2 separate regions of the Homo sapiens genome follow, and region 1 is linked to region 2. The links are contacts of gene promoters, found by promoter capture Hi-C in human tissues and cell types (Jung and others, 2019). All regions are on one chromosome and are shown on one strand. The core of a region is centred on a gene start or on the middle of the fragment in contact, and the rest is flanking DNA. Distances in the headings are between cores, read along the strand shown. Region 1 overlaps LINC03005 (long intergenic non-protein coding RNA 3005). Region 2 holds the start of PRL (prolactin).

What was found. Contacts are between HindIII fragments. The study calls those that stand out against the background at their distance.
Region 1: a fragment that was not itself captured here is called in contact with the fragment with the promoter of PRL in region 2 in 2 of the 25 tissues and cell types used here (heart left ventricle and stomach).

Annotation. Positions count from the first base shown.
Region 1 is chr6:22,697,345-22,702,929 of GRCh38, forward strand. All of the region lies in intron 1 of LINC03005 (long intergenic non-protein coding RNA 3005), which reads right to left. Among named protein-coding and RNA genes, the nearest start is that of LINC03005, 18 kb to the right of the region's middle. The HindIII fragment of the contact is 4,306 bases long and covers 1-3,958 here.
Region 2 is chr6:22,294,580-22,300,454 of GRCh38, forward strand. PRL (prolactin) reads right to left here and starts at 2,457. Exons shown (of 5, transcript NM_000948.6): 1 at 2,376-2,457; 2 at 1-5. The coding sequence starts at 2,403. The HindIII fragment of the contact is 8,347 bases long and covers 1-5,211 here.

The sequences.
Region 1 (5,585 bases), core at 556-3,055, 400 kb after region 2:
CACTTCTGTATGTGATTGGACCACAGAAAGCAGAGACTCCACAAACTCATTACAATCAAATGGGACTTGAATTCTCTTGTCTAATGTCATAATAAGCAATTATGAGCATCTTCTCAGCATTCAAATTCGGGTAATGGTGAAGCCCTAGAGAGGCATTAGATGCTGGCAGACTCTGGCTGATGGAATGTGCATATGCTCAATGGTTCCCTAAAGGCAGAATGGGGAGCTAGATGCCAGGGCAGATTGCCCTCAGTATTTAGGGTAGACACTACCTTCAATTATGACTTGTGTTTTATAATCAGGGCAGTTATAATAATATGTGTGTTCATTCTGGAGAACTCATTGTGGCAACAGAACGAACAGCATTTTCTGTCTATTTCCCATTTTCATTGGAGAATAGCAAATGAATTTCTTCTTTCAACTTCACATTTTCCTGATGAAGTCTGGGAAAATATTGGTTGCTACTATATGTTATTATTTCATTTTAAGTTAAATCTCCTTTTGTCGACTCTGGGAAAGGTAGCAGATTTTATATTATCAGTGGAACACTTTGCAGTGATAATTAGATAAATAAACACTTGCCACCCTAAGGAAGTAGTGCCTCTTAATTATTAGAAATTTTCCCTCCAAACAAATTAGTTACTAAATTGTAGTACTCTCTTCTGCTGAGCCTTTGCAGCAAAATGTGATGTCCTCTGTCTTTTTTTCACAAAACCAGATGACTGTTAAGGGATATTACTGCTTGACAATATATGATTCAGTAAAATAATTATCAAGTGACATTTATACATATTGTAAAATCTTTACATTGGAGATCTTTGGAAGAAAGTACCTTTCATATGTATCAGCCTAGATAGTACAAGAAACATAGGATGTTGGACCAAGTTAAAGAGCTCTGAAAAAATATCAGTTTTTTTTTAACTGTGAAGAAAAACATAGAGAAGTAGGGATGTTCTGCAGGAATTATTGACATTATTTTTATATATGCATAATTTTTACCTTTTTCAGTTCCAAAAACTATTTAAAAGCATATAATACACATAGAAAAGTAAACTATTATAGATACACTAAATGTGTAGACCAAGCCCTAAAGCTTCAATACTTAAAGATGTTACATCTATTATGTGGTCCATTTTTCCCCCGGCAAAATCAATGTAGTTATTTCATTTGTCTCAACAACCAAATTACCCTGATGCATGGTTGATCTGATCCATGATGGATCGGATTCCAGCATCAATTATTGGAATGGTCCACATTCTGATGTGGCTATCCCATGCAGATGTTGTCAAAGTGCCCTGTGAACCAAACCTCAGTGGCATCTCAAATAGATTGCTTTGATGCATACACATCAGAAATCCTTTCTGACTCTTCAGATCATCAAGGTAAGCTATTTTAAGAATGTTTTACCTAGCAATGACTATTTTCTCATTTGGTATCTTACCTTATTCAGATATTATAGTCTCTCTAGGTTTACAAAGACAGTTGCCAATAAAAGGACTAGCAACTGTTTTTGCAACATTTCCTTCCTTTATAAAATCAGATGTAGGAAATTTCATAGCATGTGGACAGAGAAATGAATAAAAATATATAAGCAGTCCCAAACACATTACATTGAAATTATTTTTGAATTACAAAAAAAAAAAGAAGGTTTACTTTAGTTTCAAATTAGCACAGAATTCATGGTAACATTTATTTATTGAATTAGGCTTAAGAATAGGGTGTAAGGATTACAAATAAACTAATCAACAACAAACAATCAAGTAATGACGGGAGACTGGACACAGTTAAAGAGTTGTCTGGAGTTCAGAAGGCCTGCTTTGCGCATCTGCTTTCATAGTTCTGATTCCCTCTGTAATGACTGCGGCCCTCTGTTTCCATCTGATATCGAACGCTAGTAACACTGAGAAGGAAGCAGAAAACAATGCTCCCAAGTGCGAGAAAGAGTGAGTTTTTTCATGCTTTTAGCAATGTGACCTTAGGTATTGATTTATAGCCTGCCGCAGCACCCCAGAGCAAAAGGGAACATTGGTAATTAAGTCAGTATCTGCACTTTCTAAAATAGTGCTGACTTGCCACAAAGAGAGCCCCTTTATTTTTCCTCTCTGTCTCCCAGTGAATGCAGATGCAGGCACTGACCTCTGACCTTTCTCCAAATTCTCTAGCTGCAGCTGTTATTTTTCTTTCTTGGGACCTTTAGCTGCTGATAGACTGGTAAGATTCCTTAAATTGTGTGTGTGACTTTCTTTTAAGCAAACATGAAACAATGTGTACCTCAAGCTTTACTTATAAAATATATCTTTATTGAGCTCAGAATGAAGGTAAATACTTTTACTTGGGCACCTATTAGAGATTTGCCAGATAAGTACCTATGCCCATTGACCATATTCAGAATGCACAGACATTTTTTGGAAGAATTTTATATTTAAACAGAACTTTCCATTGTAAAACTCCCAAGCTTGTAAAGTGTATTGAGTCAGAAATATCGTTGTATTCCATTAGAGTCATTACTGAAATAGGGCCACAAAAGGTAACAGCAATAAAACCAAATACCTTAAGGTATATATGCAAATTATACGCTAATATATGGTAATATGAGTACCATGTTCAGTGGCCATAAAAAATACTAAATATGGCTAATTAAAGGTAGGTACTTTGCTGTGTTTTATACTTCACAGCAATGTGAGAGAGGTAGACTATTATGATAATGACAGCATTGCTTGCTTTGGGGATCACATCCAACATTTTAACACTATTTCTTATTCTGGTGTATTTGTCTATTTCACTGAATGGAATCACTTTTTCTGTTCTCCACCCTAGGTCTTAGATTCATGAAGTTAGTGAAAAACTAAGTAACAAATTGAGTCTTTAGCCTCAAGGAAAACAAATACTTTTCTCCCTAGAAACTTCGGAAGTGTGGTACCCACCTAACGCTCCTCTGAAAATAAGTGCCCCCGACTGGGATAATGGGGTTCAGAAGTCAGCCACACTGAAAATCTGGGTAAAAGGAGCCAAGAATTCTCAGCATACTTGGGAAATGCAAATAATATTTCTCCCAGAAATGCACTTCAATATCAAGGATTTTTTCTTACAGTGAACTCAACAGAATATAATTTTCTTTTTAATTCTAAAAAAAAAATCCTAAGGGAATGAAAAAAAAGCAACAACATTCATAAAAGGACATAAAGTGAATGTGAAATCTACCTGCTTGAAAAATATCTGATTTTCCTTATTTAACTAAATAAGTCATGTGTGTGTATTCAATATGCTAATAGGACTTTAGCCCCCTAAAATACTTTTGCCCCATTATACTAAATACATACTTTATCAGTAGATGCTTGCCTGAAAATTACCTGAATTAGGCGAAAAATCCACTTGAAACCAATTTACCAACTTACTCATGAAATTTATGTTGTAGTTTCTTTCCCACAGCTGCTGTAACACATTACTACAAACTTAGTAGCTTCAAACAACACACATTTCTTATCTCAGACACCACTTTGGAGGTCAGAAATTCAACACAGATCTCACTGGCAAAACTCAAGGTGTCGGCAGGGCTTCAGTCCTTTCTAGAGGCCGTAGAGGATAATTCGGGCCCTTGCTTTTTCCACCTTCTAGGACCCACCTGTATTCCTGGGCTTGTGGCCCCTTCCTCTGTCTTCCAAGACAGCAAGAGCCTGTTGAGTTCCTCTGAGGGACTCTGACCTTCTCTTCTGCCTCTCTCTTTCACGTCTAAGGAGCATAGTGATTACATTGTCTCCCCTAGATAATTTGAGATAATCTCCCTATTCTTAAAAATCAGGTGATTAGCAACCTTCATTCTATCTGCAATTCCCATGTGCCATGTGGTGCAACATATTCACTTGCTGTGGGGATTAGGATATGGAAATTTTTGGAGGTAGGGGAATGTGCATTATTCTACCTGCCACCCTGGCACATGTGTATCAGGAGTGGATTCAGATATGATCAAGCTATGTCCTACCTTCCATGATTTCATAGCCTATCCCAGGAAATGGACATGCAAACAAATACCTGTCATACAGTTTAATGAGTAGTAATAATAGAAGCATCTACATGGTCCACTGGTAAAGGAAGAAGTGCCAAATTTAACTTTGTGAATCATAAACAATTTAAAAGAAAACCAGAGAATTTACTGAAATTTTGAAGAATGATAAAATTTCTGCAAAGATGTCCGGTGGATGGGGATTCAAGGAAAAGATAAAAGTACAGGGTACAGGACAGTAGTATGAGGAGCCTAGAGGTTGGAAGGCTGAGCAGAAGCAAGGATTGATAGTTCATTCATTTTTATATTGTGTTTGATAAGAAACCATGTATAGTTTTTGAACAGTATAGGCATCATATGCAGTATGTGTGTTAGGAAGGTTATATTATACTGACAATGTAGAGGGGAGTTTATAGAGAAACTTACCTGGCATTGAGCACCTTACCAAGGAGATGATTGCAATCCTCCAGGAAAAAAGAATGGTACTGACCTAAACTGAGTCAGGGGCAGTGAGGATGGAGGGGGAGAGATGGATTTGAGAGCAATGGAAGGATTTGCTGAGTGATTGGATATAAAGCCTAGGAGGGAAAATCAGTCAAAGATCCCTTCTGGTTCCTGCCTGGGGTAACTAGTTAGATGGAAATAGCATTAACCAGGATAAGAGTTACAAGAGGTTAAGTAGTGAAGGAGAAAAAGAAAATTGCTTCATCCTGGATATAACGACTTAAAGTGCTTGTGGGAGGATGTTGAGAATCCATCTTTACAACAATGAAAGTGAAGAGATCTGGGTTATTTTGTTGATTTTAAGCCTAGAGAAAATCCCCCAAATTGTAATCTTAGTCCAGTTGAATGAAGAGGTTCTTTGGGAATGGGATGACATGTACAGAAGGGGTCCATGAACAAGGATGGGAAAGGAGACATGGCACAGAGCATGATGAATAATGTCATGAGGGAGAAAGCCAAGGAATGCACAAAAATGTTAAGGATAACTAAAGCACTTTCTAATGTACATTTAGAACAAAGAGAAGGTAGGTGAAAGGCAGGCTGTATATAATATTTGAAAATGACACTGAGCAAGCGAAGATTACAGTGGTTTTTCTTCTTTCTTCAAGAGAATGATCCTCAGATTAAAAATGGGTATAACAAACATGGTAAAGAGGAAATTGGATCCAAGGAGATCCAAAGAGAGAGATACTTAAATAACATCTGTTTTTTTTAAATGTGTTCCTGTCTTTAGACTGAGATTAGGGGGTCCAGGATACCAAAATAATTTCCAGATGTTATCACAAGCATCATTACTCATAATCTCTGAGTAGTTATTGTACTAGGCCATTATTGCATTGCTACAAAGAAACACCTGAGACTGGGTAATTTATAAAGAAAAGAGGCTTAATCGGCTCATGGTTCTGCAGGCTGTGCAGGAGGTATAGTGTCATCTGCTTCTGGGTAGGCTTTAGGAAGCTTCCAATCATGGCAGAAGGCAAAAGGGGAGCAGGCTCTCATGTGGCAAAAGCAGGAGCAAGAGAGAGAGAGAGAGAACGAGGTGCCACACAGTTTTAAACAGCCAGATATCATGAGAAGTCAC
Region 2 (5,875 bases), core at 1,207-3,706:
GGACCCTGCTTAAATAAGAACGCGAGCCACTCTGAGATGATTTATTCCACGGAGGTTTTCAGAAGTAATCCTGCCGAGGAAAGCCTTATTGCTCCCCACTGCCCTCAGCTGCCTGATTTGCTACTGTAATGGCTGGGATGGGGGAAGAACAAACGCCTTCCACTGTGTAAATGTAGATATATAATTATGTTTGCACAGATATATAGTTTGAGAAGTGGGTTACCTCCTGCATTTTTGTACGTTTCCCAGAAGTGCTTCTGTACTTTCCAAACATTTGGAGCTTAAATTAATTCTGAGCTAGGGTGTTTGGATCATTCTCTTAAGATAGTTTAATGTCTTGGGAGTTTCTGCAGATTTTCAGCAGTCAGGCTGCCCAGCACTTTGTAATTTTTTTTTTAACTAGGTGTGTCTGATAATTTACATTGTAGACACTGATATAACAAAAACAGTACAGTCGATCCTTTCGATTTATCATCCTGCCTGATAAGAATAAACACACGATTGTTTGATTGCTAATACTGAGTTTGAAAAGAATTCTAACATAAAAATAATGCTGTAGTTTAGATCTGCTAACTCGTAATAGTCCCATGCATGTGTTTGACACTTCGCCAAAAACATTAAATTTTTTTTATATTTGAGCTTCATAATAACCTTGTGAGATACACTGGGCCTTTGTAATTATCATCAAATTATACTGATGAAACAGATGGCTTAGGGAGGTTAAGTGATTTTCCCCAAGTCGTATCATTAGTGGGTGAGAGAGGCATGATGCCAATACTGTGGTCTTTGCACGTCGTCTTGTCACATCGCGTACACCTGTGGGCTGTCAATCTGCATCTGTGTAATGGGGGCCGCATGAGTAGCCGTGATGGCTCAGTGTTTACATAGGTTGTTGCTGTCACTTTTAAAGAATAACAAGTTCTTTGCCTTTGATTGATTACATCACAACAGAGGCCCCAGAAAGCTTGATTTTCTCCACTTTTCCTGCTCTAATTACAAAACACTCTGATCTTTGCTGAAGGTTTTCAAAGCTTTGTCATCAATTTGCTATCTCAGCAAATGGACAGTTACAGTCCTATATATATCAATAATTTATACTTTCAAAAGGAAAGAAACGATAGATAGCTACCAAATTAAAATCACTTGTTAACTTCAGTGGCATTACCCCAAAAGAATGCCCAATATAAAACTGTGTTTATCACAAAACTTAAGTCCTTCAAAACCTTTAAGAAATGCAATCAGAAATGCCCAAGATAAAACTAGGCAAATGCTAAAGTTTAGTTTGTGAAAAAGTACCTAAACCTAAACACTTAAAAATACCTAAAAAATTGCTTAGTGTAGGAAGTGACTAAATCTGTTAGTTGTAAAATAAAATTTTTGTTTGAGATGATTCCTATTATAGACTTTTAATTTTTCAAAAACATGATTCTTCCAAAAAGTTTATTTTATGCATACTATAATCATATGACGAAACCAAATGTATATTTTATCTGTATGTGTAAATAAAATGTGCTTTGTAGATAGAGGAATTGGAATAGCAGGTCTAGGAAATTCACAACTGGATAGATGTTCTGTAACTCTGAGTACATTTATCTGCACATTTAGCATGGAAAGGATTTTTAAAGCCCAAAACGAGATAAAATAGACACATGTTTTTGTTCTTCATTTAATTAGAAACACATTTTATGGTTGTTACTAATTTATTTTCCTTGCAAATGTCAACCAAGAAAGTAAAGGTGATTAGTTATTACTAGGCAGTCTGTTTTTCCTTTTGAAATGTCATTTGGCTTGAACCAAATTGACAAAGAATAGGAAAGACAATTCTGTTGTTAGTGTCTATTTTATGGCTTCACAATTGAAAGTTTCATCAGGTTGATTCAAGTTGGCCAATCCACATTAGAGGCCTGATAACCAGAAAATGTTACTTTGTCCCTTTGAGAGTTGTGGCAAATTGGACCCACAGACTCTTTGAGTCTTATTCTAGTCCAGAGTTTCTCAATCTTGATATTATTGGCATTTTGAGTTGAATAATTCCTTGTTCTGGGGGCTGTCCCGTGCATTGAAGGATGTTCAGTAGCATCTCTCATCACTATCCATTAGATACCAATAGCACTTTTCCCTCACTTCCCCACCTCAGTTAAGACAACCCAAAACATCTCCCGACATTGCCAAATGCCTCTGAGAGAGGATTCCCCTGTTTGAGAACCATTGTTCTGTTCTATGGTGCCCTTGTAAAATTGCTTTCTAGAGGAAACATAAGATTGTGCTTCTAAACCTTGTAAACCTGCAAGCTCTTGTTATTAGTTAAAATTTCACATTAATCCCCCCACAGGAGTGTTGATACAACCAACAACGCAGTGAGTTGTCACACATACCTTTCCATGGCGATCCTTTGATGTTCATGTTCGTGATCGTTGCAGGAAACACACTTCACCAGAGAAGATCTGGAAGTCTCACGGTTTTCTCTTTCCCAGATATTGGCTTTATAAACCTTTGATATCTTCATGAATATAATGAATCAGGCATTCGTTTCCCTTTTCCTGGTCATCTATTTCCGTCATTGAGATTACCCCCATAATTTCAAACATCAAATGGTATTTTATTTCTTATTCATATTCAGGAAGACATACTGGCCAGAAATGAACATTCTAGGAAGGATTTTGATTAATTAGGCCAAAAGGAAATGAGAGAAATGATGAAGGTGAGATCTGAGACTAGATTGGTTTGGAGGATCTATAAAACTACAGAAGTCATTTACTTTAAAATTTATCTTATTTCTCTAAAGTTTGTTGAATATATAGGATTATATTTCACTTAGGTAACAATCTCATGTATTATCAGTTATCAAGTTTCTTCCTCAAGATTGCTAGGTAAAGATTTTAAAATTTTTACACTAAATACCAAGAGATATAGAATAAGGATTGAGAAATCAGGATTTTCAGTCCCCTGTTACACTGTCATTAAATTTCCTTCATTTTGTTGCTTTTTACATTTTGTTTTATCTTTTTGAAATACACATTTTGTTTTGTCTTTTTAAAAATACATGTGTTTTGTCTTTTTAAAAATAGCGTATCTGTATGGTACTTTGAATGTACATCTTCATCTGTTTATTTCTTTTGATTTTAACATATGTGTTAAGTGGTATTATTCTCTCCAGTTTACAGATGAAGAAACAGAAGCTTGGAGAGACTAAAGGTAAAGAATATGAAAGAAGTAGTTCAGTGCAAAAGTAATTGAGGTTTTGGGCTTTACTTTTAAATGGTAAAAACTGCAGTCACTTGCGCACCAGCCTAATAATTCTATAGTTGAGTTAAATGAAGGAACAATTATTACTTCACGGAAAATCAGGAGTCATATGAGGAAGGCTGGGAAATGAATTCTCTTGTAAACATCCTGTGGACCCACTTCTAAGACAAACAAGCTATAACCCCTGATTTAAGAGTTTATTTTGGGGAAGTGATGCAGTAGTTTTCCAGGGCAAACACACATGTGTGTGCACACACACAGACACACTTACACCCATCATTCTGGTATACCATGTAATAAACTGAAATTCTAGCCAGTAATTTCCACTCTTTTCAAGGATAGCAGTGTGTAAACTGTTATTAACTTATGATCTCTCTACCTTCTCTGACCCTGAGCCACTCTGAGGCCAAGGTGACAAAAATTCATCTTTCATGGGCTTAAAAATTCCATTCACCTTTTGGAAATTTCCTAAATGAAATGACTATAATGAATAAGAACTAAGTTTTATTGATGACTTTCTCTAATTTTTAAGTCCATGCATCTAAAGCAGCCTGTGACCTTTAGTTTCAAATTTGCTGTCTCTTACAATAGACTGATGAATGAGGTAATTTAAAAAATAGTCTTCCTATGGCATTTACTTTTTCCTTAGTTCCTAGAGCCACATATGTGCTTTAGCAATTATCTGACTAAGTGCTCTTATGGGGACCTAGAAATCTTAACAAAGACTAACGTCTCTGAAAAACTATCTTCCTAATTGCCTTAGTTTAAGGCAATCCTACATTTTGAATCATAAACATCAAATGTGATGATTCATAGACTCTCTCAATCTGAAAGCTGGGTCAGGATTCCATATACTCACATTAGGTATTCATTTTTTCCCTGGATGGAGAGAGTCTGAATTATTAAGAAAGCAGAGCTGTGTGGCAGAGAAATTAACATTATCCTATATTCTCCTCCTCTCCCATAAACTTAAGAGTAAGAAAATCTGTTATAAGAACTGACAATGACAACTTAATCTTAAAATTTAAAGGTGTTGCAACATTCTTGGATAGCCAGGATAAGAGCAATCTAAGAAAACCTAAGCTGTGTTTATTCAGGGTCTGTCAGTCGATTTATTTGACTGCAAAGAGGTACAGGTTTCTCTGTAAAATTTATTGTGTGTCTCCTTGCTGCTCCATAGCCCCACATTTCCTGTGAATGGAATATTGAAATATATAAATAATGCAAAGACATATATTATGCAAAAATCATAGTTGTCCTAATTCTTCTAACTGCTATGCATGTTACCCCCTTTCACCTTAATTTTTATATGTGCTTTCTTGCCAGGCTTTCTCTTTATCAAACTGTGCCCTTAATTTAAAACAATAAAGAAGTTCAGTAAGAATAGGGTTGTACATTTTAAAACTTTACAAAACTTCATTTGTTTGCCATTTTTGGTCTGAGAGCTTGTGATGCAACTGAGGGGTGATGATTGATTTATGTCAAGTAGCTGAATAAATAGCTCAAATGATGCTAAAGTTCCCATGCTATGTTTAGTACCTGAAACTAATAAACAAGGTTGCCATCTTTTCTAAAGAACGCTAGTTTTTAACATTAAGTAACATCAGGTTGGTTTTTATTCCTAATTTAGAACAAAGTTTGTATTTTCTTTTGTTTATCTGTTTTTAAGTTTGGAATAATTTTGTTTTTTCTTCTGTCACGTATGAAGCAAAGTATATTTAAAATCCTTCACAGGGCGGGCGCAGTGGCTCACGCCTGTAATCCCAGCACTTTGGGAGGCTGAGGCAGGAGGATCAAGAGATCAGGAGTTCGACACCAGTCTGATCAATATGGTGAAACCCTGTATCTACTAAAAATACAAAAATTAGCTAGGCGTGGTGGCAGGCGCCTGTAGTCCCAGCTACTCAGGAGGCTGAGGCAGGAGAATCGCTTGAACCCAGGAGGCAGAGGTTGCAGTGAGCCAAGTTCACGCCACTGCACTCCAGCCTGGGTGACAGAGGGAGACTCCATCTCAAAAAAACAAAAAAAAATTTCTTCACATAACCTAGGAGGTGTCTACTGCAAAATATGCTAAGGGATATTAAAGAGTGAAAGAAATTAAGAGTTAAAAAAATCCTCAGAATGAATGTATCACAAAGATATTTCAATTTATATTAGTAGTGAATTGTCTTAAATAAAATGAAATATGAAATGATTAAAGGAGTATTGTCTATGAATTGAAAAATTCTGAATAGTCGTCTTCTAATGACTAAAAAATTAAATAGGACGTGTGCTGTTTTCAATATAAAATATTAGACAATGTAAAGGGCACATTGGAGAAGAGATCAATAGTGGTTTTTTTTGAATGGCACTATTTTTAGAATAAGCAAAATGCAATGACTTAATTACATCCTACTATTTAGATTAACTTCATACATATTGTTGAATTGAATTTGGCCTAATGCTGCCCCATTTTCAGTAAACTGCAATCTAACTTAGTATGTAAACAAACTGCAACCTAAATTAAGAATATATTCTTGTAACAAGTAGCTGAGTCTTGGCCAATCTTAGCAGCTGAGCTTTCAGCCAGTTACAGGCTACAAACTGCTCAGATGTCCAAATAAGGCAAAGAAGGAGCTGTAATCAATGA